2 separate regions of the Homo sapiens genome follow, and region 1 is linked to region 2. The links are contacts of gene promoters, found by promoter capture Hi-C in blood cells and fetal thymus (Javierre and others, 2016). All regions are on one chromosome and are shown on one strand. Each heading gives the region's core, a stretch centred on a gene start or on the middle of the fragment in contact. The rest is flanking DNA. Distances are from core to core; before and after follow the strand shown.

The links. Contacts are between HindIII fragments. The CHiCAGO score rates a contact against its expected background, and 5 or more counts as called.
Region 1: a fragment that was not itself captured here is called in contact with the fragment with the promoter of ARHGAP18 in region 2 in 1 of 17 cell types (M0 macrophages); the score reaches 5.7 in M0 macrophages.

What each region holds. Positions count from the first base shown.
Region 1 is chr6:131,027,318-131,033,366 of GRCh38, forward strand. All of the region lies in intron 1 of EPB41L2 (erythrocyte membrane protein band 4.1 like 2), which reads right to left. Among named protein-coding and RNA genes, the nearest start is that of EPB41L2, 33 kb to the right of the region's middle. The HindIII fragment of the contact is 1,626 bases long and covers 3,149-4,774 here.
Region 2 is chr6:129,707,624-129,713,792 of GRCh38, forward strand. ARHGAP18 (Rho GTPase activating protein 18) reads right to left here and starts at 2,554. Exons shown (of 15, transcript NM_033515.3): 1 at 2,401-2,554. The coding sequence starts at 2,513. RefSeq lists a silencer at 2,828-2,907. The HindIII fragment of the contact is 10,321 bases long and covers 1-6,169 here.

The sequences.
Region 1 (6,049 bases), core at 2,712-5,211, 1.3 Mb after region 2:
CAAGCCTTACAAGTTAGACTCACATCTAAATGTGCATCACCCACATCCAAGTGTGTATTTTAATACAATAAAAGCTGACAATAAGGCAAATAAGCTCCTTTCCACAGGGACAGGCCCCAACATAGCTGTTATAGCTCCCCCTGGAACACAACAGATTGGGTCTCAGCGGGCTGTTGCCTAGCAAGTCCAACAATTATCCATTACCTCACAAACCTGCAGAGACTCAAATGTTTGCCAAAAAGATACAAGGCCAATGCTTAATGCAGCCAATGATTAATAGTGGCACCAGGAGCCAACCGTCATAGCAATAGGGCTGGCATCATTCTGAAAAGTTTATATGAAACTTTTATAACACAGAGAATAAATGCTTGAAGGAATGGATACCCCATTCTCCATGATGTGATTATTTCACATTGCATGCCTATAAAAACATCTCATGTACCCCATAAACATATACACCAACTACATACCCACAAAAATTTAAAGTTTTTAAAAATTTTAAAAATTAAAACCAAACTGCAAGGACTTGAACTATTCCCAAGGAAGGCAAAATGAAAATTTTACATTATAACTTCTCTCATAAGTGCCTAAGCAAAATTCAAATATCCAACATATAATATACTTATTTGGTGTCTGCCGAGATCATTTCAAAAGACCTGACAAAAAGCAAATACCAGTAAACAGAAAGCAAGGTTTCAACATGTTTTAAAATTAGATATCTGAGTTTAAAAGTTAGCAGTTATAATACATGAAGTCAATCTACCCCTCATTACCACTATCAGTAAAAAGATGATGTCAATTCACCAACTAACACTACCAATCTAGAGCAACATCAGGATTACCGACACCTTCTAAGAATTAACGTGTTTTAAAATACTATTTCTGGAGTGGACAAAATGATTATTAGGCCACTTAGAAGAGTATATGCCAAACAAGCCTTTCATGATGGGCACAAAGCAGTTTTCTAGGCTGGTACAGAACTCATTTCCCCTTCTGAGCCTACCTGGCCATGTTCTATTTATTTGTCACGAATGGATTGGGTCATCCCTTAGTGCAACAATTTTGCTCTCCAAGGAATAAAGCAATGAACTAAAAATATCCCAATGTCTGGTGCTCGGGACATACTAGACTATATGAAAAGTTGACTCTAGCTGTTTTATTATTTTAAAAGAGAAAATGTTAATTACATATATGATAAATCATTAAATCTGATTCCATACTTTGAACACTATAATACTACATTGTCTAAGTACACATACCTCACTGAAGTAGCCCTCAAACAACACAAGATTTTTGTTCCCATCATCACAAGAAAAAAAGATCATACAGTCTCTAAATCATATACCAAATTATCTAAATATGTATTAATATCGCATAAAACCAGTTTCATGGAAAATTCTTCAGGGTACATTACCTACCACAGATAAGTATGTATTTATATATACATGTTTTTCACTTCATTATTGACCTCCAATCATACTTGGGTAACTAGGTGACTCAAATGCTCTAAGTAATAATTATCTAAAGCAACATTTCTCACTCTAAAATAATCTACACTTGCCATGTCTTCATTCCTTTTATCTCCATGTATACATACAAATGCTATAAAACCCTTGTTGCATTTTTGAATAGCCAGATTACTAAGGGTACACCAAAATGACTGATCAACTTGGCTTTAGAGGGTTACAAAGAATTCTGCAAAGCTACCACAATTCTCTCTAGGAGATCAATTGCTTCTATCAAATAGCAAACGTTTCAACCTTCCCATCTTCCACTCAGTATAACTCATCAGTGGTAACAATGGACAGAGAATGCTAAAGGGAAAAAAATCTTGAATATTTCATATTTGCATGGGTATTTTCCTCCCTAACATCTCTCTACTTCCCAAAATTCTGGTAAGGAAATACAAGACTTTGTCTCCTTACAACTTCCTCCTTTAGTGGGCTATACTTGGGAAAAGCATCAAGGGAATACTGATGTTTTTTTCTGTTTTGCTTAGGACTGAAAAGCATAACAGTTTAGGGTTTTGCAAAAACCTGAAAATATCACACCCACCCTACTTCAGCATTTGTTTAAAAAAAAAAAAAAAAAAAAAAAGCATGCTTAATTCCACTAGTCAAATTCTGAAAACCACCTGGCTAAATAGCACATTAATAACTGTCCTTTCAGAAGCTATACTTACATTCTACAATTTCATTCTATAGAAATAATTTTTTAAACACGCAGAAAGGATTCAACATTAGAACTATCACAGCTCTATTTTTAAACTGCCAAATTAATTCCAGAAATTAAAAGTTCATTCTCCCACCTCAACGCCCATGGAATCCTGAATGTGATTTACATGTCAAAGGCTGACTCAGATTTAATACATTTACTTCGGAAAAACTTAGAGATGCCTGTCAAATTACAAAGCAATTGCCTAAACATTCCAGTGACATTTAACTGCTATCAAACAGTTGAAAGTTGATCTTTAACAGAATACAGCTGTTGGTGCCACAATACCTGAAAGCCCAAAGCAAGATCTGATTGTTCTGAGCCCTTTATCCAACAATGGAATCCTCAAGGGAGGATTTTTCTCTTTTTTTCTTTTTTTTTTTTTTATGCAGCACCCCAGCCTGCACAATTGGATTGTGGCTTTCCACACATGTACAGTTTCAATCACAGTTTCACACACACTAAAAACTATTCAGAACCACTGTTCGCAGTTCCTCAATGACTTTAACAAATGGTTCAGGGCCCTACTGTTATCTGCTCCCTACCAGGACCCCGTGCTCTATGCTTACAGCAACCCTAAGAGAAACCAGAGGCTCTGCCAAGTGACTCGCTCAAGAATAAAGTCGGCAAGAGGCAAAGGCAGTGTGACTGCAGGGCCTGATCCCTTCCTTGACCAATGGATAGAGGAACCTCTCATAGCACGACATGGCCAGGCTGAGATGGGCTACAGGGCCCTCCTTGGGGCTGGAACATCCTGGTCTCACCACTGCCTCTCAGAAAAGCAACTACTTGAGCAAGTGCTCAATAAACTGGCAAATTTCTACCAATAGGTTTTTAATGAAAGTATTTCTCAACTGACTAAATAGCCAGGACCTGGCTAAAAGACTCATATATCTTCTTCAGAAAGCAGAAAGTGACAAATCATTTCTATGTAAGCTTTCTTTTGGATGGTAATAAGATCAAAGTAAAATATGCAGCCTTCTCTGTATATTTTAGATCCTCAAATAGTAACTCTTTAAAATGCACTGCATTTTTAAATAGACAATTTTTCAATCGCTTACCTCAGTATGAAACAATTTTCTTAATCTGAATTAAGTTAATCTGAACCATTTATATTATGATTCCACTAGGCCCATTTTGTAAAGATGCATTTGTAGTCAAACATAATTACATGTATACAGCAACAGCTGCTCATAAATTAATTGCGGTCCTCTGCCTAGAGGTACCAAAGGGTCTGATGTATTAAATAGTGTATTGAGAGGCAGGGCATGGTGTGTCTCACGCCTGTAATCCCAGCACTTTGGGAGGCCAAGGCAGGCAGATCGCTTGAGCTCAGGAGCTCGAGGACCAGCCCGAGCAACATGGCAAAATCCCATCTCTACAGAAAAAAAAAAAAAAGGTACAAAAATTAGCAAGGCATGGCAGTGGCACGCACCAGTAGTCCCAGCTACTCAGGAGGCTAAGGTGGGGGGATCGCCTGAGCCCAAGAGGTTAAGGATGCAATGAGCCAAAATGGTGCCACTGCACTCCAGTCTGGGCAACGGAGGGAGAGCCTGTCTAAAAAAAAAAAGTTTATAATGAATGGTAAGAAATATTAAAATGCAGCACAATTAAATGTCTAGTAGGCACTACCCACCCCAGAAAAGACAAAATGACTGAATCATTGGCTTAAGTATTCAACTTAAAAGCAAATTTACCTAAATGTCAATTTAGACTAATGGTTAGAAAAGTAAGCAAACAAGTAAGGATAAGAAAATATACAGAGATTTTTTTTTTAAAAAGCCATAATAGAGTAAGCTATAAGTGATAACAATGAACAAAAAATTACCATAGAAACAGCTGATAGAGTACCAAAAAAGGCTCCAAGATAATCATATATAGTTAGTAAATTCAATTGAATAGTTTTGTACCAAGGAGCATGCTGAAAGAATACACAGTAACCTATAAATATTAGAATTATCTTATTTAACTGGAAATTTTACTAATAATAAATTAAATCCAACTCCTAGCAAATGTGACAGTTCAAAACTTCCTAATTTCCTCATTCAATTCTTCTGTCATATGAATTGCCACACAAAAAAGAAAATAACTTATAAGCACACTAGCTGAAAATTCAGTAGAATTGTAAACATTTACAACCAAAAGAAACAAATAATCCAACCTGTGAGATAGTAATTGTCACTATAAAATGAATCTTTTGACCATGAAGCTCTGATAATATATGTTTTCTATCTCAACCTTTCTCCAATTCTGAAGGCGGCATTTATCGATGTACACAAATGAGAACTAGAAAAAAATTAGAAAAAGAAATGCTATGTTAATGTTAACATTGGCAGAAGATAATATTTTCCTCTTTAAATGCCATGAAACTCTTTCTTGAAGAGAGCATAGCTACACTTACTCCAAAGTGAAGAGGGTATAAAAGGGAGAGGAAGCAAGGCATTTGTTTAAACTATACAGCAAATTTCAAAATGGCTTCAACCCTGAGAAAATATCCCTAAAAACACATTTGAAGAGAAAACTACTCAAAGAAATGCTTATCAGATAAGCTCATAAACCAAGCTTACATCAGTTATAGTCCCATATAGTCTCATATATCATATATAATATTCCTATATATTACCATGTCAAGAACCACAGAGACAGCCCTAGCCAGCACAATAAAGTCTTGCTTGAAGAGGGACTGGTATAGTGGTTTACAAAGCTATGGAAAAATACAAGGGTTTCATCCTTCCTTCAGTTTTTTCATCCCTAAAATGCAGTAGCATTTATCTTCTTTCAGCTCCCGAGAATGTAAAGGGAATAAATGAAATAATTTTGGTTCTTTTAAAGACAAGTGCTACATAAACCTTCACTTTTTTCCCTCATGATTAAAAACTCGCTTGCACAGAAGGTCACAGTATCTCAGTGGGCCAAAGTAAAAAATAAAAATTGGCATTATTCAGTTCACAAAGCACTTTCAGATTTATACTTTAATCTCAAGAACCAGTAGTGAGGCAGAGTGACCATCATCCCAGGATATTACAACGTATGCTCACTTGCTAGGTTAGCTTGCCCAAGGACTCGAGCCTGGAACTTTACAGAAAAGTAACAGAAAAAAATTCTGTTTACTACAGCTCTTAATCTCTCAAGTCACAAAAGAATTATTATTTGTTAAAAACTGTATGAAAGAGGATGTATTCTTATCTACCAGTCCTGCCAAAATAATAACCATAAGGTAACAATTTTATATATACCAATGCTGAAGTTAAGTGTACTAACCTCATAATGGTACCTCTTTATTCAATGTTACATTTAAAAATCAAAGACTAACAATAACAAAAAAAAATTTAAGGCTGGGCACGGTGGCTCACGCTTGAAATCCCAGCACTCTGGGAAATCCCAGCACTTTGGGAGTGCAGTGGCACAATCTCAGCTTACTGCAACCTCTGTCACCCGGATTCAAGCAATTCTCCTGCCTCAGCCTCCCGAGTAGCTGGGATTACAGGCGCTTGCCACCACACCTGGCTAATTTTTGTAGTTTTAGTAGAGACAGGGTTTCACCATCTTGGCAAGGCTGGTCTTGAACTCCTGACCTCGTGATTCATCTGCCTCGGCCTCCCAAAGTGCTAGGATTACATGCGTGAGCCACTGTGCCTGGCCAGGATGGCTATGATTTAAAAAAGAAAAAAAGAGACAGAGAAAGACAAAGAAAGACAGGAGAGAGAGAAAGAAAGAAGGGAGGGAGGGAGAAGGAAAGAAGGAAGGAAGGAAGGAGCAAAACAAGTATAGGCAAGGAGGTAGAGGAAATAAAACCCTTATGAGTTGCTGGCAGGAATATAGAATGAATGGCACA
Region 2 (6,169 bases), core at 1,304-3,803:
CATTTCTAGTTTGTTTGTGGTTTCTTGTTTTTTTTTTTTTTTTTGTATTTTTGGTAGAGCTGTGGGGGCGGGGGTCTTTTTTTTGCCCAGGCTGGTCTCTAACTCCTGAGCTCAAGCAATCCACCCACCTCAGCTTCCCAAAGTGCTGAGATGACAGGTGTGAGCCATCACACCCAGCCTAATGTAGCCTTTTTAAGAGTTTTGTTTTGTTTTTACTTTTTGGAGAACTTCTTTAAATAGGCATCAACCATCAACCTTGCACCTTGGAGCAGCTTCCCAGGGCTTAAAACAACACCTGACCAACCCAGCCAAAGCCAAAGCCAAAGTCCAGTTCACCGCCCCGAAACCACTATCACCATTCTTAGGTGGTCACCGAGGACCCCATCCCACCTTCAAATCCTCCTTCCTTCTATCCATCCCCTCCCCCATAGCAATTACAGTATCTCAATCCTTTCAGGCTAAACAGGGTATCTCCCAAAACAACAACAAGTTTATCTGATTCGTTAGCCCTTAAGGGTAAAAGCCATTGAAAACTAGCCCTACTCCCTCCTTCCTCCCTGCCCTCAAACCAGGCTCCCATCTTCTCCGGTCAATATCAGGAACGATCCCTAGAACTAATTCAGTGGTGGGAAGTTGGGTCTGGTATGGGCAGGCTACGTGACAGCCAGCAAAGGAGCTCACCTGGAGCTGTGGCCCCACACAGGGCACTTGCCGTGTGGGCAGCTGCCCACCCTGCCACCTTAGTGCCTCTTGGTTCTGCTTCAGCCTAGGCAGAGAATGATCTGATCCTCTCTTATTCTCTCAACCCACTCAAGTATGGGCCACCCACACTGCAAACACAGAATAATGAGTCTCCAGAACTGGAGATGCAGCCCCAGACAAAGGCCTAGAACTCCAGACCTTCCAAAAACTTAACTAATCCCTGGGGTTTGAGTCCTACGTGAAAATGAGAGGTTAGGACTCAGTCCTTAAGGTCCTTTCCATTCTCACAATCAAGATCCAAGATTCAGCTCAGGTCCTCAGGCCATTCAGCCTAAAGTCGGAGAATGTCCTGAGCTTGTATAATTTTGGCAATTTTGACTGACATGTGGAATCCAAGTTATGGCTGGGTATGGGGTTGGTGTTGCAGGCTGCTTTACTGCTTAATGATTACTAATACATTACAGAAAAATGGATGAAAACACTTCAAGATCTCTTGATTTAATGATTTAACATTAAGTCATTTAAAATGATGGAAAATGAAATGGTAACACAGCTAAGGCACAAGCACCAAATCTTTTTTATCTTTGGAAATGAATTCATTCAATGAAATACATACTGTGGATGCTATGTGAGAAACAGTTCCCGTCAGCTGGGAGTCTAACACTGAGTATTACAGCCATTCCTTTGATTTTTCTCCCTCCCTCATATTTGGAGATTTTAAAACAAATGAAAGGCAGCATTATTTCAGCTTAAGGCACAGGCATAAGTCACATAAGAACAAAGAAGGTTTTATTATCACATTAAGCATTGAGGAGGAAATGTGCTTACCGATAACTAATTTAGTGTTCTAGGCTATTAGGTTAGTATTTGCTTCTTGCAATCTTCTAGGCCAATATTTACTATTTATATCTTGATGGAGGTAAAAATGTTCAGCTAGTGAGAAGGTCATTAAGGAGAGAAAGAAAAAAAAAAGCCCTTGGAAAATGGAACAAAGTACACAGATAGGGAGAAAGGTACCCTTTGCGCCTCAGTGGTCTATAGAACATTTGCCCTCTCTGCCTATAAAGTGATTTAACATTAACCACATTTCACTCCAGCAGCAGAGTGCTATCTCCTGACAAAAACTCCTTTTTGAAAGCCTGGGGGAAAAAAAATCCACATACACAAAAGAATGTGAAACATATTGCCACAGGCCAGTGTCTTGGGCTTTTTGCCTAAGAGGTTTGCTTTCAGCAAAGAGAGGGGGGAAAAAAAACACTCTAACAACAACAGCTTGTACAGTACAGTGAACAGCCTCCCTGCTTTTTGGCAGACTTTCCCAGCGAACAGTTCCAGTGGCAGTGCCTTGAGCCCATTCAAGAATTCCATTTCATAGGAAAGGAAGTGTTTCAGATAGACCTATTTGATCTTTCAGCATGTGCAAATGCACCTGCTAAATAGCTAGTCTGACAGCCCATATAGCCCTCTCCCCAGTTCCTTCTTCTCTGTCTTCACCAGTAATCATATGGGTTATTTCAGACTTGGACTAGGTGAGATGAAAAGTACATAAAAATCACGCCAAACGTTGCTACTGCTGCTGCACGAGCTCAGGCTCGACGTGCAGATGGAATTCCCTTCTCCCCACGCCAACTTCCCTGTCACTTTCTTCCTGGAGCAGGTAAGAGGGTTTTGTTTTGTTTTCAGCTTCCGAAGGCTTACCTCGAGGTGGCTTCCTCCCCTGCCTTTGCATGGCTGTTCCCGACGGTCTGGTCCTTGCCGCTGGGGTGGTAGGCTGTTAGTACCACTCCCTGGGAACTGGAGAGCCAGCTCATGGTGAGAGAAGGGACATACTTTCTGCGATCCTGACACAGAGAAGGGGAAAGAAGTTCCTGTCTCGCCTGGCAACTCGCTCATTAGCATTGGCCAGCTCCTCCCCGCAGGCTGGCGATTCACACGGGGAGGGGCGGGGTCTGTCCAGGGAAGGGCTTCCTGCCTCTCCAATTAGAAGCTGCAACTCACAGCATGGTTTCAACTCTGGACAATTGCACTCTGGGCGGCTTTGGTTAAAGGAGGCGAAGGGTGGAAGCGACGGGTTGCACCCACCCCCAAGTTAGTCTGATCAGATTAAACTGCCAGAACGTATATTCAACTCATCACTGTAACTACAAGCCGTCTTACTTAGGAAACCATGAGTTGCTGCCAAGGCTTTTTTTTTTCCCTCCCCAATTCCTCTATCTTATAATTTCTGCTACTTAATGTAACATGAGTAAAGGCATTTCTTAACCCCTTCATGTTCAGCGTTAAAATTAGCCATAGTAAAAAACAACGAACCCGCGGCAAAACTCTGCAATCCAGACGACGAGAAAGGCTTGATCCTTGTGTCCGGTTAAAAATGCCCTCATAAAAATTGTGTGTCCTGGAATGTCGTCGTCTTTCACATAAAGCCAATCTCAAATATACGTCTTGTTTTAGCAAAATATTTTTCAGCACCAAAAAGGGATAGACCTACCAATGCTCTGTTAAGTGTTATTGCTGAGAACAAGAGAAGTCCCTGCCATTTGTTGAGCACCTACTATATGCCAAGCTCTCATGGACGGGGGTTTCACATGTATTATCTCATTCCATTCAATTCTCTCTCTCTCACACACACACACACACCGTACAAGATAGGTATCACTATCATCTGTGTTATACATAACACAAGGAAAGTAAGGCTGAGGGACGAGTTAAGTAACTTCACTAAGATAACACAGTTGCTAGTGCCAGAAGCTGGATTTGAACAGAATTCTAGGCTACATTCCTTTTATTTTTCACCAGTATGCTCTTCTTTGTTTTGCAGATTAAGAAACAAGATCAAAATTATCATAAACACAAAAGACAGCTCTGTTCTTTCTCCCCATCTCCCCTCCAAAAAAAAAAATCACTTTTTTGGTTTGTTTTTGAATCAGGGTCTCACTCTGTCACCCAGGCTGGAGTACAGTGGTGATTGTAACTCACTGCAGCCTCAACCTCCCAGGCTCAAGAAATCCTCCAGCCTCAGCCTCCCCAATAGCTAAGACCACAGGCATGCACTACCACGCCCAGCTAATTTTTTTATGCTTTGTGGAGAGGGAGGGTCTCACTGTGTTGCCCAGGCTGGTCTTGAACTCCTGGGCTCAAGCAATCCTCTTGGCTCAAGCTCCCAAAGTATTGAGATTACAGGCATGAGCCACCACGCCTGGCTTCTACTCTGACATACCCAGTAGTCTGAAGGTTTTTTTAGATTTTTATGATTCATTCAACTCTCTAGAATTCCTCTTGAACAAGTTTCCAATTCCATCATTACATAAACTTATTGCTTATACCTTATCATTATTTAAAACAGTCATGAAAAATAATTTCTTCCTCCTTACATACTCTAGAAGTATCTGAAATTTATTTTTGAACCCTCTTTCTTATAATTTACAAAAGTCTTCCTTAAAAGGAATTTATATCTTCCTCCCTCCCCCCTGCACAACTGCTCAACCTTCCCATTTCCACTTCCATAGGACTTTACTTGCTGTCTCCTTTTTATCCCCATGACCTCAACCACCTCTGGATCCTATAATGCAGTCTTAGCTCCAATATTACAACAGCCCTTTTAGCTCATCTCCCTGTCACCTCCTTTAAATTGCTTTGACATTATGATCACACCCTGGCACTCATGATCCCTCTCCTCGCTTAAAAACCTTCATTGGCTCTCTATTGCTAACAGAGCCAGTTCCAGGCTTTTGAGCAGATCACTGGGCATTCCTGCTACCTTATACATACAAGTCTTTCCATCTGCTAGACACAATCTTTTCAGGTCCTACTATGATTCTTTTCTCTTCATCTGACAGCTAACTTAAATTTTGTACCTACTGAGCCTTCAGTAAACACTGAATGGAGGAAAACCTGAATGAATTGAAAGTATCCTTTAAAACTCTACTAAATTTTTTTTTTTTTTTGAGACAGAGTTTCGCTCTTGTTGCCCAGGCTGGAGTGCAATGGCATGATCTCGGCTCACCACAATCTCCACCTCCCAGGTTCAAGCGATTCTCCTGCCTCAGTCTCCCGAGTAGCTGGGATTACAGGCATGTGTCACGACGCTGGCTAATTTTGTATTTTTAGTAGAGACTGGGTTTCTCCATGTTGGTCAGGCTGGTCTTGAACTCCCGAACTCAGGTGATCCGCCCACCTCGGCCTCCCAAAGTGCTGGGATTACAGGCATGAGCCACCGCGCCCGGCCAACTCTACTAAATCTTTATATTAAAATTGGTAATATTAGATAAGCGGTTCCCATGCACATACCAGTGCTAACCTATGAGGAAATGTTCATCAGTTCAGGCAAAACAAAAACTATAAAGAGAGGGAGGCAAAGATTAAAGTAAATTAGAATATATGTGTTTTGTCTTTTCAGTGTCCTTACATGGAAAAAATGTTAATAACCAGCTCATCCACCCCTCCTTTTTTATGTAGCTACTCTGAAATGCAAACATATGGGAATCACTATCTTATACAATTATTGATGGTAATCACTACATTATCTTTTGGAAATTCTTTTCTGTTTCCCTCCCACCTTTTTCTCCCCCCTTACTTCCCTCTACCTCCCTTTTTATTATCTTCCTTTTTTTTCTAGTTTTCCTTCTTCCTTTGCTATGTCTTTAGCCTGTCAATGTCATCCATGCCCATTGGCAGCCACGGGCACTGCATCTCTCATGTGACAGTTTGCGATGAAGATTTTGTCCAGTTATAGCCAAAACAATTATTTAGTTATATTTTTGCCTAATTATGGTCTTTTCACTTGTTTAATAACAAATCACAATGTACAGGTTGAAATGTAATTGTTTTACAATGTCAAAATAATATTTGGGTTTGCAATATCCACCGTTTTTAATTTCTGTGAGGCAGAAAACCAAATGTGATACAAATTGATTTACATAGCTTAGTACATAAAATTTGAATCCTTCTAATTTAGCTCTCAAATACCTGAAAATCCTCTGAGCTTTTTCTCCTTTCCTCCCACCAAGCCCTGTTGCTACTGGTCGAAGGGTATTACCTATCACAGGCAGAGAGCTGGTAGGACTGTGGCCTGGTGTTCATAGCCTCAGATACATGCTCAAGTAGATTAAAAACAGTTTTCAGAATTTTCCCATGTCATCAAAGAAGCAAACCTAACTACCAGTGTGGTCTCTTAAAAAGCTGTTCTTTGGGAGGCCAAGGTAGGTGGATCACCTGAGGTCAGGAGCTCAGGACCAGCCTGGCCAACATGGTGAAACCCCGTCTCTACTAAAAAATACAAAAATTAGCCGGGTGGCGTGGTGGTGGGCACCTGTAATCCCAGCTACTCAGGAGGCTGAGACAGGAGAATTGCTTGAACCCAGGAGGCGGAGGTTGCAGTGAGCCGAGATCATACCACTGCACTCCAGCCTGGGAGACAGAGCGAGACTCCGTCTCAAAAAAAAAAAAAAAAAAGAAAAAGAAAAAAAGA